Linked DNA regions of Homo sapiens: regions 1, 2 and 4 are each linked to region 3. Evidence: promoter capture Hi-C in human tissues and cell types (Jung and others, 2019). All regions are on one chromosome and are shown on one strand. The core of a region is centred on a gene start or on the middle of the fragment in contact, and the rest is flanking DNA. Distances in the headings are between cores, read along the strand shown.

What was found. Contacts are between HindIII fragments. The study calls those that stand out against the background at their distance.
Region 1: a contact is called between a fragment that was not itself captured here and the fragment with the promoter of SETD1A in region 3, in 1 of the 25 tissues and cell types used here (dorsolateral prefrontal cortex).
Region 2: a contact is called between a fragment that was not itself captured here and the fragment with the promoter of SETD1A in region 3, in 1 of the 25 tissues and cell types used here (lymphoblastoid cells).
Region 4: a contact is called between a fragment that was not itself captured here and the fragment with the promoter of SETD1A in region 3, in 1 of the 25 tissues and cell types used here (spleen).

Annotation. Positions count from the first base shown.
Region 1 is chr16:30,686,724-30,691,853 of GRCh38, reverse strand. No RefSeq gene overlaps it. Among named protein-coding and RNA genes, the nearest start is that of SRCAP, 9.9 kb to the left of the region's middle. The HindIII fragment of the contact is 5,824 bases long and covers 1-5,130 here.
Region 2 is chr16:31,249,300-31,254,410 of GRCh38, reverse strand. No RefSeq gene overlaps it. Among named protein-coding and RNA genes, the nearest start is that of ITGAM, 8.1 kb to the left of the region's middle. The HindIII fragment of the contact is 7,042 bases long and covers 1-5,111 here.
Region 3 is chr16:30,956,186-30,961,719 of GRCh38, reverse strand. SETD1A (SET domain containing 1A, histone lysine methyltransferase) reads right to left here and starts at 3,966. Exons shown (of 19, transcript NM_014712.3): 1 at 3,756-3,966; 2 at 2,839-3,003; 3 at 2,534-2,629; 4 at 183-453. The coding sequence starts at 2,988. RefSeq lists silencers at 3,258-3,347, 3,488-3,707 and enhancers at 4,308-4,437, 3,895-4,658. The HindIII fragment of the contact is 8,587 bases long and covers 1-4,883 here.
Region 4 is chr16:31,266,032-31,271,321 of GRCh38, reverse strand. It overlaps ITGAM (integrin subunit alpha M), which reads right to left. Exons shown (of 30, transcript NM_000632.4): 5 at 5,175-5,290; 6 at 238-368. Among named protein-coding and RNA genes, the nearest start is that of ITGAM, 8.7 kb to the right of the region's middle. RefSeq lists enhancers at 1-40, 5,069-5,290. The HindIII fragment of the contact is 5,038 bases long and covers 1,257-5,290 here.

The DNA.
Region 1 (5,130 bases), core at 1,569-4,068, 270 kb after region 3:
CTTGGGTTTACCTCTGTCTCGTTCACTTTAATGCATGCCCATCTATGTCCACTGTCTGGGGGAGTGCCACGCACATCATAAATATCCACACCTTGGGCTTGGTTGATGCCTGCTTGTTGCATGACGGCAATAGCTCATATGTGCTAATTTTTTTTTTTTAAGGCGGAGTCTCGCTCCCTTGCCCAGGCTGGAGTGCAGTGGTGCAATCTCGGCTCACTACAACCTCCACCTCCCAGGTTTAAGCAATTCCCCTGCCTCAGCCTCCAGGGTAGCTGGGATTACAGGCACACACCACCATGTCCGGCCAATATTTTTGTTTGTTTGTTTGTTTGTATTTTTAGTAGACACAGGGTTTCGCCATCTTAGTCAGGCTGGTCTCAAACTCCCGCTCAGGTGATCCACCCGCCTCGGCCTCCCAAAGTGCTGGTATTACAGGCGTGAGCCACTGCACCTGGATACTATGTGTTAAATTCACTCAAGAAGTATAATAATGACAAGCACTAAGCACCAACCTGTGTATTTACATGAATTAACTCACTTAATTCTCACAATTATGTTACATAGATTGTCGGCCAGGCGTGGTGGCTCACGCCTGTAATTCCAGCACTTTGGGAGGCCGAGATGGGTGGATCACCTGAGGTCGGGAGGTCGAGACCAGCCTGACCAACATGGAGAAACCCCGTCTCTATTGATAATACAAAATTAGCTGGGCGTTGTGGCACATGCCTGTAATCCCAGCTACTCAGGAGGCTGAGGCAAGAGAATTGCTTGAACCTGGGAGGCAGATGTTGTGGTGAGCCGACATCGCACCATTGCACTCCAGCCTGGGCAACGAGAGTGAAACTCTGCTTCAAAAAAAAAAAAAATAGATTACCATCCTTCTTTTATAGATGGTGAAAAGGATGGTTAAGTAACGTCGCAAGTTACGGAGCTGAAAAAGAACAACACAGGGACTGCTGTCAACCCAGAGGGACTTGACTCATTTTTGTGCTTTTTTTTTTTTTCCCCAAGAGATGGTCTCACTCTTTGCCGAGACTGGAGCTGGAGGGCAGTGGTGGGCATCATAGCTCACTTTAGCTTCAAATTCATGGGCTCAAGTGATCCTCCTGCCTCAGCCTCCTGAGTAGCTAAGACCATAGGTGCCAGCCACCATGGCTGGCTGACTTTTCTTAAGAGATGAGGTCTTGCCATGCGCAGTGGCTCATGCCTATAATCCCAGCACTTTGGGAGACGGAGGCAGATGGAATCACCTGAGGTCAGGAGTTGGAGACCAGCCTGGCCAACAAGGTGAAACCCCGCCTCTACTAAAAATACAAAAAAATGGCCGACTTGGTGGTTCGTGCCTGTAATCCCAGCTTCTTGGGAGTCTGAGGCAGGAGAATCACTTGAACCCAGGAGGCAGAGGTTGCAGTGAGCCAAGATTGCGCCATTGCACTCCAGCCTGGGTGACAAGCAAAACTCCATCTCAAAAAAAATAAATAAATAAAAATAAAAAAAAGAGAGAGATGAGGTCCTGCTTTGTTGCCCAGGCTGGCCTTCAACTCCTGGTTTCAAGCAATCCTCCTGCCTCAGCCTCTCGAAGTGCAGGGATTACAGGCATGAGCCACTGTGCCCAGCTACATTTGTGCTCTTAACTGCTGTGCAGTACACCTTGTCAAATCCAGGTCTAGCATCTGAGTCCATCTACCATGTGCCAGGCATTATTCTAGGCACTGGGGAGATAATGTTGGAAACACAAACAAGTAAAACACTCAAGGTTTCAGTTTTTATCAAGCTTACATTCCTGGTGGGAGAAGACAAATAACAAACATATAAATAAGTGTGAATATAAAATAATGATGGTTGGCTGGGCATGGTGGCTTACGCCTGTAATCCCAGTACTTGGGGAGGCTGAGGCAGGCAGATCACAAGGTCAGGAGTTCGAGATCAGCCTGGCCAATATGATGAAATCCCGTCTCTACTAAAAATACAAAAATTAGCCAGGCGTGGTGGCAGGCACTTGTACTCCCAGCTACTCGGGAGGCTGAGGCAGAAGAATCACTTGAACCCGGGAGGCGGAGGTTGCAGTGAGCCAAGATCGTGCCACCGTCACTGCACTATAGCCTGGGCGACAGAGCGAGACTCTGTCTCAAAAAAAAAAAAAAAAAAAAATTAGCCAGGCGTGGTGGCCCCTGCCTGTAGTCCCAGCTACTGGGGAGGCTGAGGCAGGAGAATTACTTGAACCTGGGGGGTAGAGGTTGCAGTGAGCCCAGACTGTGCCACTGCACTCCAGCCTGGGCGACACAGCGAGACTCTATCTCAATAAATGAATAAAATAAAATATAATAATGGCTGATACGTGTTATGAAAAAATGAAGTGGGGTGGATGAGCTCGGGTGAGGGGCAGAAGAGGCATTATTTTAGACAAGATTGTCTGGGAGGGCCTCTCTAGTGTGGTGACATTTGAACAGAGACGCTCTGGGGGAAGAGCATCCTAAGCAGAGGTAAATAAGTACAAAGGGGCCGGGCGCGGTGGCTCACGCCTATAATCTCAGCACTTTGGAAGGCTGAAGCAGGTGTATCACCTGAGATCAGGAGTTCGAGACCAGCCTGGCCAACATGGTGAAAACCCATCTCTACTACAAAAATTTGCTGGGCCTGGTGGCGAGCACCTGTACTCCCAGCTACTTGGGAGGCTGAGGTAGGAGAATCGCTTGAACCCAGGAAGTGGAGGTTGCAGTGAGCCAAGATCATTCCATTGTACTCCAGCCTGGGTGACAAGAGCAAAACTCTGTCTCATAAAATAATAATAATAATAAGTACAAAGTCCCTGAGGCTAGACCCAGCTTATCCTGCCAGGAACCCACCAGGAGACTGCAGGGGAAGGGGAACAGTGGGAGATGCGGTCTTAGAAGAGGATCAGGCCTGCATCTGGCAGGGCTTTGAAGACCAAGCTAAGGAGCTTAGATGGAATGTGAAGTGTAGCAGGAGGGCTTTGAGCAGAGGCCAGATACAACGTGCTGACAACGGACTGTTGGGATAAGAGTCTAAGTGACTGCTGTAGTCTAGGTAAAAGGTGATGGAGATTGAAATCTTTAAGCAGAAAGGGAATGTGGTGGTAAGGTTGACAGATTTAGCAAATAACTCTTCTGGGGAACCTCTGCGAGGAAACTCTGGAAGGCAGTTGTGGGTGGCTGAGGTCCCAGGAGGCTAGGAGAGGGTGCTAGAATACCTCTCCTCTCCACAAGGACTGAAAACTTCTCAGAACACAGCCAAGCACAGAGCCTTCGTGGGTTGAACCCAGCACATCTTAAGCAAACACACGAATCCAAAACATCCCAACCTTATGAGAAGGAAACTGTAATTATGACACCCAGTTCTAGGAAGGGTATGGGCAGCTAGGTGCACACACTGCTGTCGGAGGGACTGTAAGCATGCCCAAACTTTTTTATTTGAATTAAAAAATTATTCGGCCGGGCACGGTGGCTCATGCCTAATCCCAGCACTTTGGGAGGCCGAGGCGGGTGGATCATGAGGTCAGGAGTTCAAGACCAGCCTGGCCAAGATAGCGAAACCCCGTCTCTATTAAAAACACAAAAAAATTAGTGGGTAATCTTGGCAGGCGCCTGTAATCCCAGGTACTTGGGAGGCTGAGGCAGAGAATTGCTTGAACCCGGGAGGCAGAGGTTGCAGTGAGCCGAGATCACGTCACTGCACTCCAGTCTGGGCAACAGAGCGAGAGTCCATCTCAAAAAAAATTAAAAAAAATTCTTGAACCCAGGAAGCTGAGTTTTCAGTGAGCCGAGATTACGCCACTACACTCCATCCTTGGGCAACAGTGAGACTCCACCTCAAAACAAACAAACACAAAACAACAACAACAAAAGGAGAATATTGGCTGAGGTCACATGACATACAATAAATAAGAAAAGCCTTGATCCATTAAGTGACTCACAAAAGAGTGACCATTAAGTACTGCATTCTAAAAAAAAAAAAAAAAAAAAAAGGTGTGTAGAATAAGTACCTTCTGTTTTGTGGTCTTGTTAGAAAAAAAAAAGGAAACAAAACAAAAAAATAGCAGAATGTGTTTGTTAATTCCTGGAGAGTGGTACACAGGTGTTTTTTTGGTGTGTTTTTGTTGTTGTTGTTTGAGACAGAGTGTTACTCGTTGCCAGGCTGGAGTGTAGTGGCGCGATCTCAGCTCACTGCAACCTCTGTCTCCTGGGTTCAAGCGATTCTCCTGCCTCAGCCTCCTGAGTAGCTGGGATTACAGGCGCAGGCCACAGGTGTTTGTTATACTTATTTTTTAAACTTAAAAACAACTGGCCGGGAGCAGTGGCTCACGCCTGTAATCTCAACACTTTGGGAGGCTGAGGAAAGAGGATTGCTTGAGTCCAGGAGTTCCAGACCAGCAGGTGAAACATAGTCAGACCCTGTCTTTACAAAACAACAACTACTGAAAATGTTTTTAAGGTAGAGGTAAAACAAATGTTTGCTTTATCGTTACTATTTATTTATTTTTGAGACAGAATCTCCCTCTGTCCCCCAGGCTGGAGTGCAGTGGGCCTGACCTCGGCTCACTGCAACCTCCTCCTCCTGGGTTCAAACGATTCTCCTGCCTCAGCTTCCTGAGTAGCTGGGATTACAGGCATGAGCCACCATGCCCAGCTAAGTTTTCTGTATTTTTAGTAGAGACAGTTTCACCATGTTGTCCTCAGGTGATCCGCCTGCCTCGGAGGCCTCCCAAAGTGCTGGCATTACAGGCGTGAGCTACAGCACCCGGCTTATAGTTACTTTGGATTTTTTTGGGTTTTTTTTGTTTTTTTTTTTGTTTTTTTTTGAGAAGGAGTTTCACTATTGTTGCCAGGCTGGAGTGCAATGGCAAGATCTCGGCTCACTGCAATATCCGCCTCCTGGGTTCAAGCAATTCTCCTGCCTCACCCTTTCGAGTAGCTGGGATTACATGCACCCACCACAATGAATGCCCGGCTAATTTTTTGTATTTTTAGTAGGGACGGGGTTTCACCATGTTGGCCAGGCTGGTCTCGAACTCCCGACCTCAGGTGATCCACCCGCCTTGGCCTCCCAAAATGCTAGGATTACAGGTGTGGGCCACTGCGCCCGGCCATCTAGTTACTTTTTTTAAGAATG
Region 2 (5,111 bases), core at 2,024-4,523, 290 kb before region 3:
AGACTACAGATGTCAGTACAGATGTCGGTTCTCCATTTAATTACTCAAATTCATTATAATCTCACCCAGCAGAATTTTTCTAGAATTTGACGTGCTGATTCAAAAATTGACTGGACTAGAAAACACACAGCAATAGCCTATAAAGCAATGGGACATACCTTACAATGTCATGTTATTCCATAACAAGTACCCTATCAAAGCAATATTCTAAAGCCACAGTAGGTAAAAGTACAGTGTTGGCTCTGGAATAAGTATATAAGACCCTCGGAAAGAATACAAAATACGTATGTAGAAATCTGGTGTTCCCATCAGAAACAATACATTTCTCCTACTGAAAAAGCAAACAAGACTTTCTTTGATTCCACTCCCCTCATCAACCACTGCCCATTTTTTACTTCCCTTTTGCAAAACTTCTCCAAAGTAGTTGTCTGTGTTGGCTGCACCCTGTTCTACTGCTCACATCCTCCCTTAACCCCATTCCAACCAAGCCTGTGCTCCAACCCGGCACCTACTCCACCTAAACTATTTTTATCAAGGTCACCAAGGCTGCCTGAGTGACTCCAGTGATGAGTTCTGTCTTCATCTTGAGTGACTCAGCAGCAGCTTCTGACACTCGGCCCTCGCTTCCTGGAACTGATTTCTACATCTGTCCTCTGACCCCACACTCTCCTGCTTCCCGCCTACCGCCCATGACCCTCCTTCTCAGTTTCTCTTGCTGATTCTCCTCTTCTCCCAACCTCTTCAGAAGGATCTCAGAGCTCAGTCCTTTGACTGCCTTTTTTCTTTTTTCCAACTCCTGGGTTCAAATGATCCTCCCACCTCAGCCTCCTAAATAGCTGGTACTACAGGCATGCGCCCCCATGTCCAGGTAATTTTTCAATCTTTTTGTAGAGACGGGGTCTCACTAAGTTGCCTAGGCTGGTCTCAAACTCCTAGCCTCAAGCCATCCTCCCACCTCAGCCTCCCAAAGTGCTGGCATTACATGCGTGAGCCACCGTGCCCAGCCGAAGTCAATTTTCAGTACAGCAGTCAGAGGGATTGTTTCAAAACACAAGACATATCATGCCACTCCTCTGCTCAAAACCTTGCAAAGGCTCCCACGTTACTGATAGTAAAAGCCAGTCCTTTCTACAACCTACAAGGACCTGCATGACCTGTCATCCCAACCCCAGCCCTTACCTCTCTGAGCTTACCTCATTTTCTGGGACAGCAGCCACCCTGGCCTCCTTGCCATTCCTCAAACCTGCCAGGCACACCACCACCTGAAGGCCATGGCACTGGCTGTTCCCTCTGATGGAACCAATCTTCCCCCAGGGATCGGCAGGCTCACTGGCCCACCTCCTTCAAACAAGTGGGTTTTGCATCACATGACTCTCTATACTCAACTTCGCAAACCTTCTTTGCCACATTCCTCAACATTTTCCAGTTTTGCTCTCAGGGGAATGAAGGTATCAGGTCTTCATCGTCCCTTTTCCTGCACAGCACCCAGGGTCACGGCTTCTCTCTTCCCAACAAAATCTCCCAGTCCCACCTCTCCAAATTTCCTTCCTTGTCTACACAGACAAATTATCTCCGTCTGAGCTCCTCCAATTTGCTTCGCTCACCACACTCGAAGAAACTTGCTACAGGATCCGCCCTCCTGAGAAAGTTGTGGGAAGAACAAGAATAAAATACTGTTTTTCCATTGCACTGGATTGTCAAGAAAAGTTCCTGTGATCCTGTCAGGCCTCTGAGCCCAAGCTAAGCCATCATATCCCCTGTGACCTGCATGTATACATCCAGATGGCTTGAAGCAACTGAAGATCCACAAAAGAAGTGAAAATAGCCTTAACTGATGACATTCCACCATTGTGATTTGTTTCTGTCCCACCCTAACTGATCAATGTACTTTGTAATCTCCCCCACCCTTAAGAAGGTACTTTGTAATCTCCCCGACCCTTAAGAAGGTTCTTTGTAATTCTCCCCACCCTTGAGAATGTACTTTGTGAGATCCACCCCTGCCCGCAAAACATGGCTTTTCACCCCCTATCCCAAAACCTGTAGGAACTAATGATAATCCACCACCCTTTGCTGACTCTCTTTTCGGACTCAGCCCGCCTGCACCCAGGTGAAATAAACAGCCTTGTTGCTCACACGAAGCCCGTTTGGTGGTCTCTTCACATGGACACGTGAGACAACCCCAGCTACCCAGGAGGCTGAGGTGGGAGAATCACTTGAGCCCAGGAGATTGAGGCTGCAGTGAGCTGATTGCACCACCGCACTCCAGCTTGGGCAACACAGCGAGACCCTGTCTTAAAAAAAAAAAAAAGTAAGAAAAAAAAGTTCCACCTGAGTGTCATCCTCAGCCATCTGGTTAAGCCTTTGGGTCTGGAATCAGACTAAGGGCACTAAAATCCTAGGTCTACGCCGGGTGTGGTGGCTCACACCTGTAATCCCAGCACTTTGGGAGGCTGAGGCAGGTGGATCACCTGAAGTCAGAAGTTTGAAACCAGCCTGGACAATATAGCGAAACCCTGTCTCTACCAAAAATACAAAAATTAGCCGGGAATGGTGGCACATGCCTGTAATCCCAGCTACTCAGGAGGCTGAGGCAAGAAAATCACTTGAACCCAGGAGGCGGAGATTGCAATGAGCCAAGATCACACCACTGCCCTCCAGCCTGGGCAACAGAGCAAGATCTCATCTCAGAAAAAAAAAAAAAAAGAATAAAAATATCCTAGGTCTATAAGTATGCCCTTGAACAACTTACTCTCTGGACCTCACTGTCCTCATCTGGAAAATGGGGGCAATAATTGTACTAACATCTTGGGGTGATTGTGATAGTTAAATGAGATAATAATAGATGTCAAAGTGCATGTAGTCAACATTCGCTGTAATCATTCTACCAACTGTGTTGGGTTGATGGATGACCTGGCCAGCGCACCCTCGATGACACACAGAGGTAGGTGGCTGAAAGCTGCCTGTCGCTCAGTGGGAAGCATTCTGGATGCTTCCCTTGCCACCTCAGTTGTCCATGCAGCAGGCCAAATGTCTGGCAGGCCAAGGAAATTGTTCTACCACAGGCTTTGTGAGTCCCAGGTGTTTCGACCAAGGTCACACAAAGAGCATGGTTGGCCACAGGTGACTTGCAGGGCAGCGACAGCCATTTCACCATCTCTAAGTTCTTGCCTCCCAACCTTGAAAGGAGGAGTTGCTCAGGGCCTAACCTGAGCAGGGCAGGAAACAAAACTACTAATTCCTGGAATAGGCTACTTGGTACTCAGTAAATCTCATGTTCTACTTGTTCTGTTGTTTTTCCCCAAAAGGCCCTAACTGATGTGTGACTTAACAGAGTTTTTGTAAGGGTTAAATTAAATAATGCATGTGAAAAGCTTAGCACAGTGCCTGGCATGTAAGATGCGCCCCCACCGGCAAAGATGATTATTTGTATTGGTGGAGACTAAGGTTCAACTGTTGTAATAAGACCCAAAATCACAGAGGCTTAGCCCAGACAGTCCTGTGATGGCCCCAGCATCAGCATTTGGGGGTTACGGAGGCTCCATGGTGTTGGAGATCCAGGCTCCCTCCAGCAGGTTGCTCTGCCATCCTGAGGGTTTTGTCTTCATCCGCCTGGTCAAAGACGGCCCAGCGCCAAGTCCACCCTCGGGCTGACAGGAAGGATAAAAAGAAGTGGTGCCTGGCAGGGAGTGGTGGCTCACGCCTGTAATCCCAGCACTTTGGGAGGCCGAGGCAGGCGGATCACCTGAGGTCAGGAGTTCAAGACCAGCCTAACCAACATGGTGAAACCCCATCTCTACTAAAAATACAAAAATTAGCTGGGTGTGGTGGCACATGCCTGCAATCCCAGCAACTTGGGAGACTGAGGCAGGAGAATCGCTTGAACTCAGGAGGCAGAGGTTGCAGTGAGCCGAGCTCAAGCCACTGTACTCCATCCTGGGCAATAGAGTGAGACTTTGTCTCAAAAAAAAAAAAAAAAAAATTGAGGCCAGGCACGTTGGCTTATGTCTGTAATCCCAGCACTTTAGAAGGCCGAGGCAGGCAGATCACTTGAGCCCACGAGTTCAAGACCAGCGCAGCAACATGACACAACCTTGTCTCTATAAAAATTACAAAAAAAAATTAGCTGGGCATGGTAGCATGTGCCTGTGGTCCCTGCTACTTGGGAGGCTTAGGTGGGAGGATCACCTGAGCCTGGGAGGTCAAGGCTGCAGTGAGTCAAGATTGCACCACTTTACTCCAGCCTGGGTAACAGAGCAAGAATCTGTATCAAAAAAAAAAAAAGCCAGGCACAGTGGCTCACACCTGTAATCCCAGCATTTTGGGAGGCCGAAGTGGGTTCACATGAGGTCAGGAGTTCGAGACCAGCCTGGCAAACATGGTGAAACCCCGCCTTTACTAAAAATACAAAAATTAGCCAGCCATTGTGGCGGGCGCTTATAGTCCCAGCTCCTTGGGAGGCTGAGGCAGGAGAATCGCTTGAACCTGGAAGGTGGAGGTTGCAGTGAGCCAAGAGCATGCCACTGCACTCCAGCCTGGGTGACAGAGTGAGACTCTGTCTCATAACAAAGAAAAAAAATGGTGGGAAGGCCCCTTTCCTTTAAAGGTGAGACCAAATGTTGCACACATCATTTCCTTCACATCTCATTGGCCAGGACTTAGTCACATGGCCACACACAACTGCAGTGGTGACTGGAAAATGTGATGTTATCCTAAGTATCTGTGTGCTAATTAATGGGGTTGCATTACTAAAGGAAGAAGAGGAAAGCACATGGGGGCAACTAGCTCTCTCTGCCACATATCATTATCATTACTCTAAGCACGCTCTGGATGAAACATCTTGTACAATTTGACAAAGTAACTATGGTCCTTAGGCATCCTTGACCTGATATAAGTATCATTACTGTCACATTCAGCTCAGGGCCTCTCTATTCAGAGCTTTACAGGCCTTGGGGTTTGGGGAGAGGCTGCAGATTCAACAAGAGCTTTCCTCCAGAAAAGTTTTATGTGCCTTAAATAAAGTGGGAAATTGAGGGAGAGGGGGGCTTCCTGGTTCCACATGAAGGAATACAGAGGTTGGAGAAAGGGTGGAGGCAAAGCCCTGAGGGGAGGCA
Region 3 (5,534 bases), core at 2,717-5,216:
ACCACACACACAAAAATCCATGTACCATAATTCCACTCTAAAATCTGATCTGATTTCAGAAACACAACTGGCCCCAGCAGTTTCAGATCATGACCCTGGGCGCCTGCCTGACCCTGACAGGCATTTGCATGTACAACCTCCGCTGGAGGCCAAGCCTGAGTGGCAGGCAGAGGAGTCCTCACCTTTGATGTCAAGCTGGGCATGGATGATGTTGCCCATGACGGAGGTAAGGTGGAGGTTTTTGACCGTTTCCTTGGCGCCCCGAGTGCTGGTGAAGAGCACACGGGCCAGGCCCAGGTGCTTGCGCGTACGGGGGTGAAGGAGGATCTCTACCTCTTCCACCTCACCGTACTTACGGCACATATCCTTCAGGAAGGTCTCCCGCACGTTGTCATTCAGCCTTGCAAAAGTCACTTCCTTCAGTGGAATCTGTCCAATATAGAACTCGTCCAGCTGGGGAAAGAACAGGAGTTGGTATGGGGTCTCAACACTGACCACTGTTCCTTTGTCCTTCGGGAAACTTTAGCAAGCTCCATGAAGTCAAGAGAGAGATCCGGGAAAGTGAGGGGCAAGGGAAGGGGCCCAAAATAAGGGATCCATCAGACCTGACCCCTTTTCCCTGAATTCTTCTCACCACAGAATAACAGCAAGAATTAAGAACAGAAATGTGCAAACTAGGCCGGGTGTGGCAGCTCACACTTATAATCCCAACACTTTGGGAGGATGAGGTGGACGGATCACCAGAAGTCAGGAGTTCAAGACCAGCCTGTCCAACATGATAAAACCCTGTCTCTACTAAAAATACAAAAAAAAAAATTTAGCTGGATGTGATGGTGGGCACCTGTAATCCCAGCTACTCAGGAGGGTGAGGCAGGAGAATCACTTGAACCTGGCAGGCAGAGGTTGCACTAAGCCGAGATCACACCACTGCACTCCAGCCTGGGCAACACAGCGAGACTCCGTCTCAAAAAAAAAAAAAAAAAAAAAAAGAAAGAAAGAAAGAAATGTACACACTGAGGAATAAATATACGTGGAGAGAACGAGCTACAGGGCGATGATTTCCTAGCTCAGCCTTTACTAGGTAACTACCATGAACGAGGCACTGGAAATACAGAGATAGAAAGGAAGAGATTCCCATACAGAAAAGCAGCATGACATGCACATACAAACACAACACGACCCAGTGGCAGCTGACGCATACATGGTGTTCTGGAGCCCAGGGAAGGAAACTTTTGTACAGAGTATGATCAGGGAAGAATTCATAAAGATGGTGTCATTCTTACTGAGATTTGGGGATTAACAATTCATCAAATGACAAGGACCCCTGGAACATGGAAATATAAAACAACTTGGTGTTTTTGAAAAACCGCAAAGCGTTATGGTGTGGATGTAACACAGGGGTGTGGTGTCAAGGCGGAGGATAAGGCTTGGCCAGGTCAATAACCATACATGTCAGTGTCCCAAAACATGGACTTGGCAACAAAAGGAAAACAGCAGCGTAGTGAAGCCAAAGAGACAAATGACAGCAAGGCAGAGGAGAAACTGAGGCAAGAACGAAGGCAAGGAGACCAGGTGAAATGAATACCAAGGTCTACATTAAGTGGCAATGAGAATAGAAAGATGAAGAATAAAAAAGAAAAGAGCCAGGAGGATTCGGTGACCAACTGAGAGAGAAAAGGAGAGAATCACAGGCTGCCAGGCTGTACAGCTGAGTCGATGGTACTGCCACATATGAGTAGAGGGAAAATGAAAAAGGTAGGTTAAGGAGGTAGATAATTTGTTTTAAATCCCTTAAATCTGAAACATGTGTGGCCTCCAAATGAAACTGTCCCCCTACCAGGCATACAAGCCTAGAGATGTTGGCTGGAAACAGATACTTGGAAGTCATCAACATTTAGGTAATAGTTGAAGCTGTGGGTGTGAAAGAGATTGTCCAAGTGAAGTGTACAAAGTAAAAAAAAAAAAAAGAAGAAGAAGAATGAAGGGACCCCACAAACAATTTATTTAGAAAGGAAGAATAAAGAATCAGAGAAGGAAATGAAGAACCACCAGTGTTCCAGGCCCAGTTCAAGGCCTGAAGAATATCTTGTCTAGGGTGGAGAATAGGAGTCCTCGAAGGAAACAAGAGGGAAATGACATCGCCAAATGAGAGGCGGGGAATAGTGCTACCCAGGTAGGCAGTGGCCTTGTCACTCCCCTTGACTGTCAAGGAACTGGGAGATCCCACTCTTGTGTGCTATGATGCACTGTCTACGAATATACAGTGATAGGTATAGCAGCTAAAGAGTCTTTACCTCACCCTTCAAGAAGTCGACACCCCAGCCACCAGGGATACACTTAGGACACCTGACCTGCACCTTTCTGGAAGATTAAGTGTACCTCCTATCCAAAACAACTGAGTCTCACAGCCTCAGAGGTTGCTAGATCTGGCTGAGATCCTTTCATTGGAAACCCTTTTATTCAGCTATAGTGCCAAGACGCATCCTCCACACCCTCTTAGGACTACCACACCAGGAGCCCAGCAGACACTTACCTTAAACTTAGGGACTGGGAGGGAAAAGTCTCTGTTTTTGGACCTGACATGGCAACGGGGGTCTTGGAGGTCTTCGACTGGTATATACTTTGAGTCCTAGGAAGGAAAGCAGCAGCAGAAAGAGAGCTCAGGGTGAATCCAGGCTAGGGAGCTCCAAGCAGCCCATCTGGACACACACATGCAGAAGAGCTGGGTCCAACTGCCCACTTTCAAGAAGGCAGGCTACCGTTCTAGGTGCTGAACAGAATCACAGAGGACGGGCGCCTGGAGCTCCCCGGATGGCAACCAAAGACCCGGGCACTCACGTTGACACTGAAGTGGACTCCATCATAGCGGTACACCTTCTGAGAAGGCCTGCGCAGGGCAGGGTCCAAGGCAGGATCCACGATGAGCTTGTAGTTCCGCCACTGGAAGCTCGGGGCCTTCTGCCCATCTCCCCCACCTTCCTGATCCATCTTTGCTCATTTACACTGTTAGGGGAAGAGGGACACGCAAGAAGGATCAGGACTTGGGGCCTGACTCCCCTGCCTTTCCTCATTGGCTAGCCCCGATTCCAGGTTCTCCCATCACTCCAGTTTCCAACCCTCACCCTGACCCGGGGCTCCCCCGGATTCTCCCCCAAGTACCCTCTGTTTCGCCACAACAACCCAGCCTCTTTCCACCTCCCAACTCTACTGTCAGGCCCCCAGGCCCGTCTCGAGCCCCCTTACCTTCCCGCTCTCCCTAGCGCGCGCCCCACTTGGCCTCGGAGCAAGACCCCTCCCCCGCCCCCTGCAGGCCCCGCCCCCTCCCGCCTCCTCACCGGCCAGCGGCCCGGGCCGAGCCCGGCCACGGCTCCCACACACCCGCTCTCCTCCCCGCGCCCCGATCCTCCGGCCGAAAGGTGGCACCTCTTCGGGGCGTTGGAAACACCGCGAGACCGAGCCCGAGACCCGGCTTCGACCCCGAATCCGGGCGGGGGGGTGGGGGGAACGTGCACCGCTGCCCTCTCCTCCCGCCCCGGCGCGTTCTGCACCCCCCCCAGCAGGTCTCCGCGCACGCGCGCCGCGCGGCCCCACTCACCCGCTCCCGGCGAGCGGCTCCCCCTCCCCCCACCTCGCGCGGCACCTCAGCGGCGCGAGGCGGCGGCAGCGGCAGCGCGAGACCCGGCCCCGCAGCGGTGGCGGCGGCGGCGCCCCCCCACCACCACCTCCCCGGCGCGCGCACCAAACACCACTGCCACCTGCGCGAGGCCCAGCGGGCACAGGGTCTGCATTCGCACTTTCGCCACAGGCGCTGCCGGGGGACCCACGGGGCCGAGGGTAGCGGCTTCGCCTCGGCCGGCGCCCTGGGAGGCTCGGAAGTTGCGGCCCAGGGAGCTTGGAGATTGGCCGCATCCCCCGGAGAGTCGGCTTCGCCACGACGATCTAGATGCTGCGGCCCGGGACCTTGACGAATCGGCGGCGACGAAAGCTGCGACTAGTCCCTGAGGAAAAGGGGCGGGGCGGAGGGGAGGAGGCCAGCCAGCGCTGGGGAACCTTCAGTGGCGCGTTCTGCAGACGCAGATTCACCGGGCGGGCGGGGCGAATCGCTGGACAGGATGCGCGCCGCTTTGCTTCTCTTCCCCGTCCCTTCCTTGCACTGCCAAATTCTGAGAGGCTGCAGATTCGCCACTGTTCCCGGCCTCAGCCGTAGCCTCCCCTTCATCCGCCTTGGTGGAGTCAAGAAAATAACGGCCCGTTAGCCAATCCCTGCTGGCAGAGTCGACAACTTTTTTTGGATTTTTCTTACTGGCCCAAGTGAGAGAATAGCCCGCTTCTGTCCCTGGGGAAAATGCCTCCAGCCCAGCGCTCCTCTCAGAGTCCGATGAGAATTTTCAGCCGAGTATCGAGGGACCCGAGGAATTCTGAGGATCCGACCTGGCGAATCTGCGGATTCCGCTGTGGGCGGGGCCGAGTCAAGGGGCGGGGCCAGGGCGTGCAGAGCCTGGGACTAGGGGGCGCCTCCGGGAGGACCCACGAGGACTCACCCGGATGGGAGGGACGGCCGGGAGGTGGAAAAACACAACCGTGAGCGGTGACTCAGGCGGTTTGCCCCGCCTCGCACATAAATGCAGGGTACCTTTCCTTCCCGTTATTGCCCTTGGGTGTCTGGCTGCTTAGGATGCCCATTTGCCAGATGGGGAGAGTGAGGCCTGTAGAAGGTGCCCTACTTTGCCGTACTCAAACCCACCATTAGTGGTTAAATCCAGGGACCGCCTCAAGGTTTTCTGATGAGCCTAGTGGGGCCTAAGTGCCCTTAAATGGGCCTTGTAATAATAAACGAGGTCCTACAGGAACGGGACTGGACTGGTGTGTCCTCCTGGCGTCATGGTCCCACTGCCCGCTTCTTTGGCTATGGCGCCCTATGCTCACGGGATGCCTCCGCACAAGGGCAGCAGCGGCCCAGGCCTACCCCTGGAACTCGGGCTGAGGTTTCTGAAGGCTGGGCACCGTTTTGATCCCGTGTGGGCGCAGGCACTCCCAGGAGGTCCCTTTTCCTGAGCTGAGGATGCCCCAAGCTCCTGATATGTGTACATCAGGCCCTCGCTATATGGCCTTGGGCAAGTCATTGACCTAAGTTTCAGAGTCTTCCTTTAAACTTGGATGTCAATTTGTACACATCCGAACAGTGCAGAAAAGACCCTTAGAGCCTGGTTTATGCAAATTCACCATTTTAAGTAATAGGAAAAGGTGGAAGGGAGACTTATCCAAGGTCTCACACCACAAGATAGAAGAAGATTAGGACTCTACAATTTTGAGGGAAATAAGGCTGAAAAAAATAATTTACGTGGAGGCATAGGTGTTGAGATCAGATTCCTTTCTGTTCCAGTTGAAAGGCACTGGTTCCTTTTCTCAAATCAAAGAGAGATTCCCGTGTGAGGGGTAGATAGTCCAAGTTCAGTTTCATGGACTAGCTGTGTGGTTTTGGGCAAGATCTTCAGCCTTCTTGGGCCTGTTTCCTTATCTCTGAAATGAAAATG
Region 4 (5,290 bases), core at 2,526-5,025, 310 kb before region 3:
GTGGGCTTCATCTCCCATGCCAACCTTAACAATTAGAGCTGCCCGCTTTATAAAAGGCTGAAAGAATGCTGAGGCTGCATCCAACAGAGCAGAAAAGAGACTCAGGAAGGCAAACCATAATCGATCGTCAATTTGGCAATGTCTGCAGTTGAACTGGGAGGAGAACATGGTGGCCCGGTTGCCATGTATCTTCCAGCCCCGTGTGGGCTCTTCCCTAACCTACCCCTGGGCCCTCACCAAGGTTTTGGACTTTTTTAATTGCTCCATCACAGTTGAGACAAACTCCTTCATCCGCCGAAAGTCATGTGGGATGATGCTACCAGAGCCATCAATCAAGAAGGCAATGTCACTATCCTCTTGAGGACACCCTGGGGAAGGGGAAAAGAGTATGAATCAAGTAATTTGACACTTGGTGTTTTGGGTTTTTTTGCATGTCAGCCCTCTGCTGAACAATGAGAATATAGGACCCCGTCTCTATAAAAAATATAGATGTTAAATATATATATAAATTATGTATAATATATATATAATTTTTAACGTGTGTGTATATATATATATGTATACACACGTTAAAAACATATATATATATATATATATATATATATATATATATATATATATACACACACACACGTTAAAAATTAGTCAGGCATGTTGGCACATGCCTGTAGTCCCAGCTACTCAGGAGGCTGAGGGTGGGGGATCACTTCAGCCCAAAAGGTTGAGGCTTCAGTGAGCTATGATCACGCCATTGCACTCCAGCCTGGGCCACAGAGAAAGACCCTGTCTCTTAAAAATAAATAAATAAGTAAATAAACAAGGACAAAGTGGTATGGAAAATTTTCGTTAATTCTGCCCAAGGGAATCAGGGAATGTGGTGATGTTTGACTGAATCTTGAAGAACAGGAAATAATTTGCCCAGCTGGGCGAGGTGGCTCACACCTGTAATCCCAGCACTTTGGGAGGCTGAGGCAGGTGGATCACTTGAGATCAGGAGTTTGAGACCAGCCTGGCTGACATGGTGAAACCCTATCTCTATTAAAAATACAAAAAGTAGCTGAGATCGCACCACTGCACTCCAGCCTGGGTCACAGAGCAAGACTTCGAAGAAAAGGAAGAAAGGAAGAAAAAAAGGAAAGGAAAGGAAAGGAAAGGAAAGGAAAGGAAAGGAAAGGAAAGGAAAGCAAAGGAGGAAGGAAGGAAGGAAGGAAGGAAGGATTTGCCAGATATACAAAAGGAGTAGATTCTAGAAAAGGGAAGGGCACACACATATAAAGTGATGTGGAATGTGCTCCTCTGCCTTCTGCCCCATCCCCAAATCCACTTTCTACCCATTGCCGCTCAGCTCTGTGGCCTGGGAGGTCAACCTGCAGGGACCCCATCACCAGGACTCTGTTGCCCTCTGGATTCCCATTGGATTTGGCAGATGAGGGGGCTCAACAGAAGACTAGAGGGAGGAGGGCAGTGAGGTCCGGGTGTTCTCCCATTGAGGTTGTTTGGGGACAGCTATGTCCTTCACAAAAGACCAACTGTTCCTCAGAAGGAAGCCAGCTCCACATGACTCTCTCCAGACCCTGGTGAGCTCTCCCTCTCCTCAACCCATAAACCCAGGGGTGGCAACAGACCTGCTTGCCCAGGGCTTGGAAAGTCCCTGATGGCTCCCTTAGGCCTGTCACAGCTTTATAATTACTCCCTTTATAAATAAACCCCCCTCTTTGTAAATAAATCTTACTGAAACCGCCTTTGCAAAATTATGACTGAGACAGTGAAAGAGATCTAACTTAACTGATTCCATCTTGCTTCTAACCTCCAAGCTGTCCGTGTTCATTCCTGGGTGTAGGCTGAGCTAACTTTGGGAGACACTTAGTTTATAGTTTATAGTTTATAGTTTAAACAAAGATCGTAACAGCCCTTTCCCAAAGCAGACCTCCTTCTTACCTGGGGACTAGATTGCCTTTGTAGGACTAACGTTAGCCACAAGATGAGAAATTATGATTTAGGAGTCATGCAGCTGGAGGCTACAAGATTCTGACCCTCCCTAAACTGCTCCTAAAATCAGTGCTTGAGATATTTTGCAGACCTTGCACTTGATGGATCAGCTGGCACTGCCCAGATCAATAAACTGGTTCATCCGATCTTGCTGCCCCCACCCAGGAACCAACTGAACGCAAGAAGACAGCTCCGACTCCCGATGATTTCATCCCTGATCAATCAGCACTCCCAGCTCACTGGCTTCCCCCGCGACCTACCAAGTTATCCTCAAAAACTCTGCCCCCAAATGCTCGAGGAGACTGATTCGAGTGATAATAAAACTCTGGTCCCCTGCATAGCTGGCTCTGTGTGAATTATTCTTTCTCTATCGCAATTCTGCTGTCTTGATGAATCGGCTCTGTCTAGGCAGCAAGCAAGGTGAACCCCTTGGGCAGTTACATTACTGGAATGTGCTTTTGGTCCCAGTTGAGACTCCTACTGATATATGGGACAAGGGCCTCAAAAGGATTCTGGCAGAATCCAGGAATGCCGTTTGATGGAAACAGCACTACAGGGACAAACGTATGTGACGGCGATGGAGACACAGCGGTGGCATCAAGCAAAGAGCAGCGGGCAAGGGCCTTTCTACTCCAATAAGGAGCTCGACTTTATCTGTAGGCAATGGGGAGCCACAGAAGGTTCTTAGAAAAGGAAGTGAGATGATTTGTTTTGTATTTTAGAAAGACTGGCAGGGCACAGTGGCTCATGCCTGTAACCCCAGCACTTTGGGAGGCCTCCTGAATAGCTAAGACCACAGGCACACGCCACCATGCCTGGCTAATTGCATTTTTTGTAGAGATGGGGTCTCATTATGTTGTCTAGGCTGGTCCCAAACTCCTGGCCTCAAACAATCCTCCTGCCTTGACCTCCCAAAGTGCTGGAATTACAGGTGTGAGCTACCGCACCCTTTCGAATTTTGAACCAAGTGTATGTATTATATATTTTTTAATAAATGAAAACTTTTTTAAAGAAGTAGTCTTGAACCCTGAGAGTGAGGTCTAAAGAGGGAGAGGTAGAAGTGTTAGCTGAAGCCACAGAACTGGGTGATTTCAGGAAAGAAGAACACGTGGGTGAAAAGAGAACCCAGAACCCAGTGCCCCTAGGTGGAGAGGGAAGCTGGAGGCCAGCCGGGGGTGAAGAGAATGCACTCAGGAAGCTTGGGTGGTGAGGGTGAGGAGAGATGGCAGGAGATGAGGAGGAGACTGGAAGAGAGAAGATTGTTTTCATGGCTATCGATTGTGGTGGTTGATTGCTTTTCAGATACAGATAGAATGAAGAGTGTTTACAGCCAGAGGAAGGGGGAAGTTAATTGTCCTAGAGAGAAAACAAGTGATTCAAGAGATGCTGGGCCAGGCGCAGTGGCTCACACCTGTGATCCCAGCACTGTGGGAGGCTGAGGTGGGAAGATCTCTTGAGCCCAGGAATTCGAGACCAGCCTGGGCAACAAGGTGAAACCCCATCTCTACAAAAAATACAAAAATCAGTATATGCGCACCTGTGATCCCAGCTACTCTGGAGGCGGAGGCACAAGAATTTCTTGAGCACAGGAGGCAGAGGCTGCAGTGAGCCGAGATTGTGCCACTGCACTCCAGCTTAGGTGACAGAGCAAGACCCTGTCTCCAAAAAAAAAAGAAAAAAGAAAGATAGGTGATCACCTTAGTTGGTGCATGAGAGACTCTCAAAAGCCCATATGGAAGAATTTAGTCATGGGACAGAGGAGAGACAGGTCTTCCTCTAAAACGAGTGAGTCACTGCCAGGAGTGCTGTCATTATGGAAATTTGAGAAAAAGGAGAAAGTGCGGTGTTACAGCTCCTTTAGAATTTGTCAACAAATTCCAGTGAAGACTGGAAAACCGCTTATTAAGATAAAATAAGAGAAGGGGAAAGTGGAGGGAGTCCATGCCTGAAGCTTTTGTTTTCTCTGTGGAGGAAGGAGGATTAACTGTGGAGGGTGAAATATAGAGGAACAGGGCTTGAGAAAGAAAAAAAATGCAAGGGAGAAACATTCGCCTGTGGTCCCAGAATCAACATGAAGACAAGCAAAAAGATGGCATAGCCATCGAACAAAGCAGTGGGAAAAAGCAGCTTGAAAGATCCACGCACTCTGGCCAGGCATGGTGGCTCATGCCCCCCACTCATTCCCTGGCTCATTCCCAGCACTTTGGGAAGCCAAGGTGGGCAGATCACCAGAGCTCAGGAGTTCGAGACCAGCCTGGCCAACATGGTGAAACCCCGTCTCTGCTAAAAATACAAAAATTAGCCGGGTGTGGTGGCGGGCACCTGTAATCCCAGCTACTTGGGAAGATGGGGCAGGAGAATCGCTTGAACCTGGGAGGCAGAGGTTGCAGTAAGCCAAGATCGTGCCACTGCACTCCAGCCTGGGTGACAGAGCGAGACTCTGCCTCAAAAAAAAAAAAAAAAAAAAAAATCCATACAGTCACTCAGAATCTCAATCAACAGAGGTTTGGGGAACAGGGGTGTGGAAGGCCGCCCCCCAGGATGGTCCCCAAGATTCCCACCTCTTGCCAATGACACCTTGCACCATCCCCTCCTCTGCAGTGTGACCTGGACTTATTTTTTAAAGACAGGGTCTTGCTCTGTCACCCAGGTTGGAGTACAGTGGTGCAATCATAACTTGCTGCAGCTTCAACTTCCCAGGCTCAAGTGATCCTCCTGAGTAGCTGGGACTGCAGGTGTGTGCCACCACGCCTGGCTAATTTTTTTTTTTTTTTGTAGAGACGGGGATCTCCCTATGTTGCCCAGGCTTGCCTTGAACTTGTGGCCTCAAGCAATCTTCCCACCTTGGCCTCCAAATAGCTAAGACTACAGGTGCTCATCACCACACTCAGCTAATTTTTTTTTTTTTTTTTTTTAGAGACAGGATCTCACTACATTGCCCAGGCTGATCTCAAGCTCCTGGGCTCCCAAAGCTTTGGGATTGCAGGTATGAGCCACTGTGCCTAGCCAAGGCGTTTTCCTAAAGTACAAGACCCTAGCACCTCCCTAGCTTCTGACTCTAATGGGACCCAGTTCCCCCACTCTTCTGCACCCAGAGCCCAGACCTTGAGCAGACGTCACCTCAGTCCTGCCCCCTCCCCTGGTCTTTTGCTGCGCATCTGTTCCCTCTGCCAAAGGCAACCCACCTCGGAGGGCCTCTGGGAACTTCTGGGGCTGCTGCCGTAGGTTGGATCCAAACAGGAAGCAGAGCCCTTTCACATACGTGTTCTCACTGCAAGTCTGGTGCACGGTGGGACCACAG